Regions from separate parts of the Homo sapiens genome. Here region 2 is linked to region 1. Evidence: promoter capture Hi-C in human tissues and cell types (Jung and others, 2019). All regions are on one chromosome and are shown on one strand. The core of a region is centred on a gene start or on the middle of the fragment in contact, and the rest is flanking DNA. Distances in the headings are between cores, read along the strand shown. Region 1 holds the start of HSD17B14 (hydroxysteroid 17-beta dehydrogenase 14). Region 2 has its middle 7.3 kb from the start of RRAS.

The links. Contacts are between HindIII fragments. The study calls those that stand out against the background at their distance.
Region 2: a fragment that was not itself captured here is called in contact with the fragment with the promoter of HSD17B14 in region 1 in 2 of the 25 tissues and cell types used here (aorta and dorsolateral prefrontal cortex).

The regions. Positions count from the first base shown.
Region 1 is chr19:48,834,405-48,838,129 of GRCh38, reverse strand. HSD17B14 (hydroxysteroid 17-beta dehydrogenase 14) reads left to right here and starts at 1,639. Exons shown (of 9, transcript NM_016246.3): 1 at 1,639-1,806; 2 at 2,287-2,325. The coding sequence starts at 1,719. It overlaps PLEKHA4 (pleckstrin homology domain containing A4), which reads left to right. Exons shown (of 20, transcript NM_020904.3): 19 at 1-113; 20 at 579-1,033. The coding sequence ends at 841. RefSeq lists a silencer at 662-731. The HindIII fragment of the contact is 14,395 bases long and covers 1-3,725 here.
Region 2 is chr19:49,631,027-49,634,751 of GRCh38, reverse strand. No RefSeq gene overlaps it. Among named protein-coding and RNA genes, the nearest start is that of RRAS, 7.3 kb to the left of the region's middle. RefSeq lists an enhancer at 1,677-2,176. The HindIII fragment of the contact is 5,234 bases long and covers 1-3,725 here.

The DNA.
Region 1 (3,725 bases), core at 390-2,889:
TCCAAGGAACACCACCCCTTACTTGCCGACTTCCGAAGGTCACCGGGAGCGGGTTCTCAGCCTCTCCCAAGCCCTGGCTACTGAGGCGTCGCAGTGGCACAGAATGATGACAGGTGACTGGCTGGGGATGTTGGACTTCTGGGTTTTAGGGAGGAGAGAGCTGGAGACCTGGAATCCCAGGTCCTGGAGAGGAGGGGTCTGGGGGCCGGTGAGAATTTTTTATCTTGGTGAGTAAAGAGTTGGGCAGGGTTTGGGAGTTTTAGGTCTCAGGCAAGAGGTGACTGGGGTCCGGGACACTTGGGAGGAGGGGAGGAAGAGGTCAGGGGGCGGGGAGAGGGCCGACAACTGAGTCTCAAAGAGGACTGGACTGGCGTATCCAGACTCCTGGATCTGAGGGAGGAGGGGCTGGGGGCCTGGACTCCTGGGTCTGAGGGAGGAGGGGCTGGGGGCCTGGACTCCTGGGTCTGATGGAGGAGGGGCTGGGAATCCGGAGTCCTGGGTCTGAGGGAGGAGGGGCTGGGAATCCGGGGTCCTAGCGCTGAGGTTTGCCATTCTCATGTCCCACTCATCCTCTCCAGGTGGAAATTTGGACTCCCAGGGAGACCCTCTTCCCGGTGTGCCGCTGCCTCCTTCGGACCCCACGCGCCAGGAGACCCCTCCCCCCAGATCTCCCCCGGTGGCTAATTCGGGTTCCACGGGGTTCTCTCGCCGAGGGAGTGGGCGTGGAGGAGGTCCCACCCCCTGGGGGCCCGCGTGGGATGCCGGGATCGCCCCTCCGGTCCTGCCACAAGACGAGGGGGCATGGCCTCTGCGAGTCACTCTGCTACAATCCAGCTTCTAATCCGCCCAAAAGCGGCAGCCAATCGGAGCGCGAGGACGTGGTCTGGAGGTACCGCCGGAGATCTGGGACCACTCAGGGCATCAGGGGGCGTGGTCTGGTCCCCATTGCGGGCCCGGGAGGGGAATGGTTTCTATGGCCAAAGTTTGGTTTTCTCAACACTGTCTAAATTTGGATTAAAACTTTGAACTTTTAGTCAATAGCTTTCTTTCTGTCTGTCTGGGGTTGTGGCACTGGTGTCTCTGAGGGGCAGAGCTGGAGTCGTGGACTCCTGGGTCCTGAGAGAGGAAGGGACAGGGGGCTTGGACTTATAGGTCTCTGGGAAGAAGGGATAGAGAACCTGATCCCTCGGTCTGAGAGTGGAGGGGGCTGGGCCAGGATTCCCGGGTCTGAGGGAGGAAGGGGTGGGACCCTGACTCCTGGGTCTGAGGGAGGAGGGACTGGGAGGCTGGACTCCCGGGTCTGAGGGAGGAGGGGCTGGGACCCTGACTCCTGGGTCTGAGGGAGGAGGGGCTGGGAGGCTGGACTCCCGGGTCTGAGGGAGGAGGGGCTGGGAGGCTGGACTCCCGAGTCTGAGGGAGGAGGGGCTGGGGGCCTGGACTCCCGAGTCTGAGGGAGGAGGGACTGAGGCTTCTGGATTCCTGGGTCTGTGGGAGGAGGGACTGGGGCTCCTGGATTCCTGGGTCTGTGGGAAGAGAGGAGTGTCTGAGGGAGGAGGGGCTGGGGACAAACTTCCAGGTCTCTAGCCTTCCTGGCAACGCCCCCCGAGGCCGGACTTCCAGGATCCAGCCTCTATTGAGGATTTGATGCGACGGCCTCACGGGGCTTTGGAGGTGAAAGAGGCCCAGAGTAGAGAGAGAGAGAGACCGACGTACACGGGATGGCTACGGGAACGCGCTATGCCGGGAAGGTGGTGGTCGTGACCGGGGGCGGGCGCGGCATCGGAGCTGGGATCGTGCGCGCCTTCGGTGAGCCGGGTCTGACTGCTGGGAGCTGTGGAGTGTGAGAAAGGAAGGATGGGGGCGGGGTGATGGGGGCGGAAAATAGGGACTCCAGTACTGCAGCCAGGATTCTGATATTATAAAAGCCAATTTGCAGGCTAAAGTAAGCGTGTGGCGCTGTAGGCTAGGGCTGAGTCTGGCAGGGTCTCCGAAGGCAGTGGCCCCTTTCTCTGGGTCTGTTGGTGTAGCTACAAAACCAGTGGTTTGAGGAATGGCTCTGTCAGTCGTGGAGTTTGCTCCGGAAGCCACGAACGGGGGTTCAGGAGCCTCAGCAGAAACAAGGCAAGGAGAGTATGTGTCAAGGCGTCTGCCCTCTGTCCTATGGGTGATCATGAGACTGGGGTCACGAGGGGAGAGGGAGATCAGCCCCAATCCAGGTGGCCACAAGAGGGCGGCAGAGGCTTTAACCAAGGCTCGGAGAGTAACCTGTTCCCTTCCTATTCTCAGTGAACAGCGGGGCCCGAGTGGTTATCTGCGACAAGGATGGTGAGTGACGGTCCCTCAGCCCTCACCTTGGCCCTTCCTCCCTCAGACCCAGAGGTCCAGACCCCTAGCACCTCCTCCCTCAGACCCCGGAGTCCAGGCCCCCAGGCCCTACTTCCTCAGACCCAGGAGTCCAGACCTCAGCCCCTCCTCCCTCAGACCTAGGAGTCCAGGCCCCCAGCCCCTCTGCCCTCAGACCCAGGAGTCCAGGTCCCCAGCCCCTCCTCCCTCAGACCCAGAAGTCCAGGCTCCGGCACCTCCTCCCTCAGACCCAGGAATCCAAGTCCCCAACCCCTCCTCCTTCAGACCCAGGGGTCCAGGCTCCCAGCCCCTCTTCCCTCAGACCCAGGAGTCCAGGCTCTGGCACCTCCTCCCTCAGACCCAGGAGTCCAGGCCCCCAGGCCCTACTTTCTCAGACCCAGGAGTCCAGACCTCAGCCCCTCCTCCCTCAGACCCAGGAGTCCAGGCTCCCAGCCCCTCCTCCCTCAGACCCAGGAGTCCAGGCCCCCATCCCCTCCTCCCTCAGACCCAGGAGTCCAGGCCCCCAGCCCCTCCTCCCTCAGACCCAGGAGTCCAGGCTCCCAGCACCTCCTCCCTCAGACCCAGGAGTCCAGGCCCCCAGGCCCTACTTCCTCGGACCCAGGAGTCCAGACCTCAGCCCCTCCTCCCTCAGACCCAGGAGTCCAGGCCCCCAGCCCCTCCTCCCTCAGACCCAGGAGTCCAGGCTCCCAGCACCTCCTCCCTCAGACCCAGGAGTCCAGGCCCCCAGGCCCTACTTCCTCGGACCCAGGAGTCCAGACCTCAGCCCCTCCTCCCTCAGACCCAGGAGTCCAGGCCCCCAGCCCCTCCTCCCTCAGACCCAGGAGTCCAGGCTCCCAGCCCTTCCTCCCTCAGACCCAGGAGTCCAGGCCCCCAGGCCCTACTTCCTCGGACCCAGGAGTCCAGACCTCAGCCCCTCCTCCCTCAGACCCAGGAGTCCAGGCCCCCAGCCCCTCCTCCCTCAGACCCAGGAGTCCAGGCTCCCAGCCCCTCCTCCCTCAGACCCAGGAGTCCAGGCTCCCAGCCCCTCCTCCCTCAGACCCAGGAGTCCAGGCTCCCAGCCCTTCCTCCCTCAGACCCAGGAGTCCAGGCCCCCAGGCCCTACTTCCTCGGACCCAGGAGTCCAGGCTCCCAGCCCTTCCTCCCTCAGACCCAGGAGTCCAGGCCCCCAGGCCCTACTTCCTCGGACCCAGGAGTCCAGGCTCCCAGCCCTTCCTCCCTCAGACCCAGGAGTCCAGGCCCCCAGGCCCTACTTCCTCAGACCCAGGAGTCCAGACCTCAGCCCCTCCTCCCTCAGACCCAGGAGTCCAGGCCCCCAGCACCTCCTCCCTCAGACCCAGGAGTCCAAGTCCCCAACCCCTCCT
Region 2 (3,725 bases), core at 370-2,869, 800 kb before region 1:
AGTAGAGGCGGGGTTTTACCATGTTAGCCAGGATGGTCTCAATCTCTTGACCTTATGGGTATTTTCTTGGGATAAACTTTGAACATCTGATGAAGGAATTTTTTTTCCTAGAAAGTTATAGAATGCGCTCTTCAATATGGTAGGCAGAAGCTACATGTGGCTATTTAAATTAAAATTAAATAAAATTTGGCTGGATGCAGTGGGTTATGCCTGTAATCCCAGCATTTTGGGAGGCTGAGGTGGGCAGATCGCTTAATCTCAGGAGTTCGAGACCAGCCTGGGCAATAAAGTGAGACCCCCCCCCGCCCCCATCTCTACCAAAAATACAAAAATTAGCTGGGTGTGGTGGCACATGCCTGTAGTCCCAGCTACTCAGGAGGCTGAGGTAGGAGGATCGCTTGAGCCTGGGAGACAGAAATTGCAGTGAGCCAAGGTGATGCCACTGTACTCCAGCCTGGGCGACAGCAAGACTGTCTCAAAAAATAAATAAATAAAAAATAAAAAAAATAAAAATAAAGGCCAGGCGCGATGGCTCACGCCTGTAATCCCAGCACTTTGGGAGGCCCACGCGGATGGATCACCTGAGGTCGGGAGTTCAAGACCAACCTGACCAACATGGTGAAACCCTGTCTCTATTAAAAATACGAAAATTAGCCGGGCGCATTGGTGGGCGCCTGTAATCCCAGCTTCTCAGGAGGCTGAGACATGAGAATAGCTTGAACCCGGGAGGTGGAGTTTGCAGAGAGCCGAGATTGTGCCATTGCACTCTAGCCTGTGCAACAGAGCGAGACTCCGTCTCAAATACAACAACAACAACAAAATAAAAAATATTTTAATAAAACTTAGTTCCTCAGTCAAATCAACATTTCAAGACCTCAGTTGTCACATGTGGCTAGTGACTTTTTTTTTTTTTAGACAAGAGTCTCGCTCTGTCACCCAGGCTGGAGTGCAGTGGCAGGATCTCCAGTTGCTGCAACCTCTGTTTCCTGGGCTCAAGTGATTCTCCTGCCTCAACCTCCTGAGTACCTGGGACTACAGGCGCATGCCACCATGCCCGGCTAATTTTTGTATTTTTGGTAGAGACGGGGTTTCGCCACGTTGGCCAGACTGGTCTGGAACTCCTGGCCTCAAGTGATCTGCCCACCTCGGCCTCCCAAAGGGCTGGGATTACAGGCGTGAGCCACCGCACCCAGCCTCTAGTGGCTATCTTAATAGATAGGGCAGATAGACAACATTCCTATCATTGCTGAGTGGGCTATTGGATAGTGCTTTCTAGAACATTCCAATAGAACGTTCTAGGACATTGGAGACAGGCAGCAACTCAGCTGGGTGTGGTAGCTCACGCTTGTAAGCCCAGTACTTTGGGAGACCGAAATGGGTGGATCACTTGAGGCCAGGAGTTTGAGACCAGCCTGGGCAAGAGCTAGACTCTGTCTACAAAAATAGAGACAGGGAGCAACTGCTACAAACCCTGCCTGTCCCACTCTCACCTTCAATGTATATCGAGAAGGGACAGGTGGGTGGAATGGTGTCCAAGCAGCCGTCTGGCAAGTCCTCATTTTCAGAAAGTTCCCAGTAGCACTGAAATCTGAATCTAAACACTTAATCCAATTTGGGGTCAGTGTGGACATCCCCCATCCAACCCCCTATTCTGTCCTGGGAGAAGCAGAAGTGTTGGGTGTCTTAAGGCCACAGTGGGTAAATGGATGACACACTTCAGTCTGGATACCCAAAGCCCATCTGTGTCCTAGGAACACTTCGTTTTTTACATTTTATTTATTTATTTGAGACAGGGTGTCACTGTGTTGCCCAGGCTGGAGTGCAGTCGCGTGATCACAACTCTGTAGCCTCAACCTCCTGGGCTCAAGCAATCCTCCTGCCTCAGCCTCCCAAGTAGCTGGGACTACGAGTGCACACTTGGCTAATTTTTCATTTTGTTGTAGAGATGGGGTCTCGCTATGTGGCCCAGGCTGGTCTTGAACTCCTCCCTTTAAGCAATCCTCCTGCCTCGGCCTCCCAAAGCTCTGGGATTTACAGGCATGATCCACCATGCCCAGCCTGGGGACACTTAGGACTCTCCCACATCCAACCTAAGCTCTGGTTGGGGGAGGAGCAGTCCTGCCCACTATTTGCTACCCTGGAAGGCTGAAGCCAACTGGAGACCACTGTCCACCCACCTCCCAAGCCTGTGTGACCGGCCATCTTTAAAGCCCCAAATCTACCCAACACACCAGGCTAAAAACCTCAACCGGCCGGGCGCGGTGGCTCATGCTTGTAATCCCAGCACTTTGGGAGGCTGAGGCGGGTGGATCACAAGGTCAGGAGATCGAGACCATCCTGGCTAACACAGTGAAACCCCGTCTCTACTAAAAATACAAAAAATTAGCTGGGCATGGTGGCAGGCGCCTATAGTCCCAGCTACTCAGGAGACTGAGGCAGAAGAATGGTGTGAACCCAGGAGGTGGAGTTGCAGTGAGCCGAGATTGCGCCACTGCACTCTAGCCTGGACGACAGAGCGAGAGTCCATCTCAAAAAAAACAAAAACAAAACAAAACACCTCAACCGAGATGTCCCGATGCCCTGAACTTGAGGCTCCACCTGAAACCTATCAGCAGTCAAACATCTGCTCCCTATACCCAGGCCCCTGATCCCTGAATGCTCTACTCGCACCCACCCTGGAACCTGCTTCCTAGTCCTAGGGTGGAGCATGGCCTTTGCGTGACCGGGATGCCTGAATTCAAATCCAGCTCTGCCACCTCAGTCTCATCTGTAAAATGGGGGTAAGTACAAAGCTACTTCACAGGGTGAGCACGAGACTAAAGGAGACGATTGCAGAGGAGGAATGAGCCCGGCGCATACTAAGTGCTCACCATCAATGACTGTGGCTGACATGTCTCCATTCTGCCCCAGAACCATGAATGTCCCTCTGTATCCCGGATTAGAACACGGATTAGCAGGCTGGGCGCAGTGGCTCACGCCTGTAATCCCAGCACTTTGGTAGGGCAAGGCGGGCGAATCACCTAAGGTCAGGAATTCGAGAGCAGCCTTGCCAACATGGTGAAACCCCCCTCTCTACTAAAACTACAAAAATTAGCCGGGTGTGGTGGCGGGCGCCTGTAATCCCAGCTACTTGGGAGGGTGAGGCATGAGAATCGCTTGAACTCGGGAGGCAGAGGTTGCAGTGAGCTGAGATCGTGCCGTTGCACTCCAGCCTGGGCAACAAGAGCGACACTCTGTCTCAAAAAAAAAAAAAAAAAAAAAAAAACTGATTAGCTAAATATCCCTTTCCGGGTTCTATTATCACAGAATCTTTGGCCTGTTCTCAACCTTCTGCCCTGGGAAAAAGTACAGCTCGGATGTACTGTCACATGTTGGCTCTCTTCCCTGCTAGGAACTCTGCACACCAGGGGTCCACCCCTGCTGGATGGGGAGTGGTGGGGCAAGAGGGTGGGCAATGTTTTGATCAGTTTCCAAACAAGCTCTGACACTTCCACCTAAGCCCCAGCTGCGGGTACTGAGCCCCCAACAGGAAGGAGTCCTGTGCCAACATCTCTCTTCCCAGATCTCACCATCCACATGCCCCCTGCAGAGGATCAGAGTCTTTCCTGCACTGCCCGATGGGGCCAACTTCTTGGCTGGGGCACCCTGCTTCTAGTAGGACCAAGATGCACTTTGAGAAGGTGATTAAAGTTACCGCTTGCCCCCCAAATGCTCAAGACAACTGG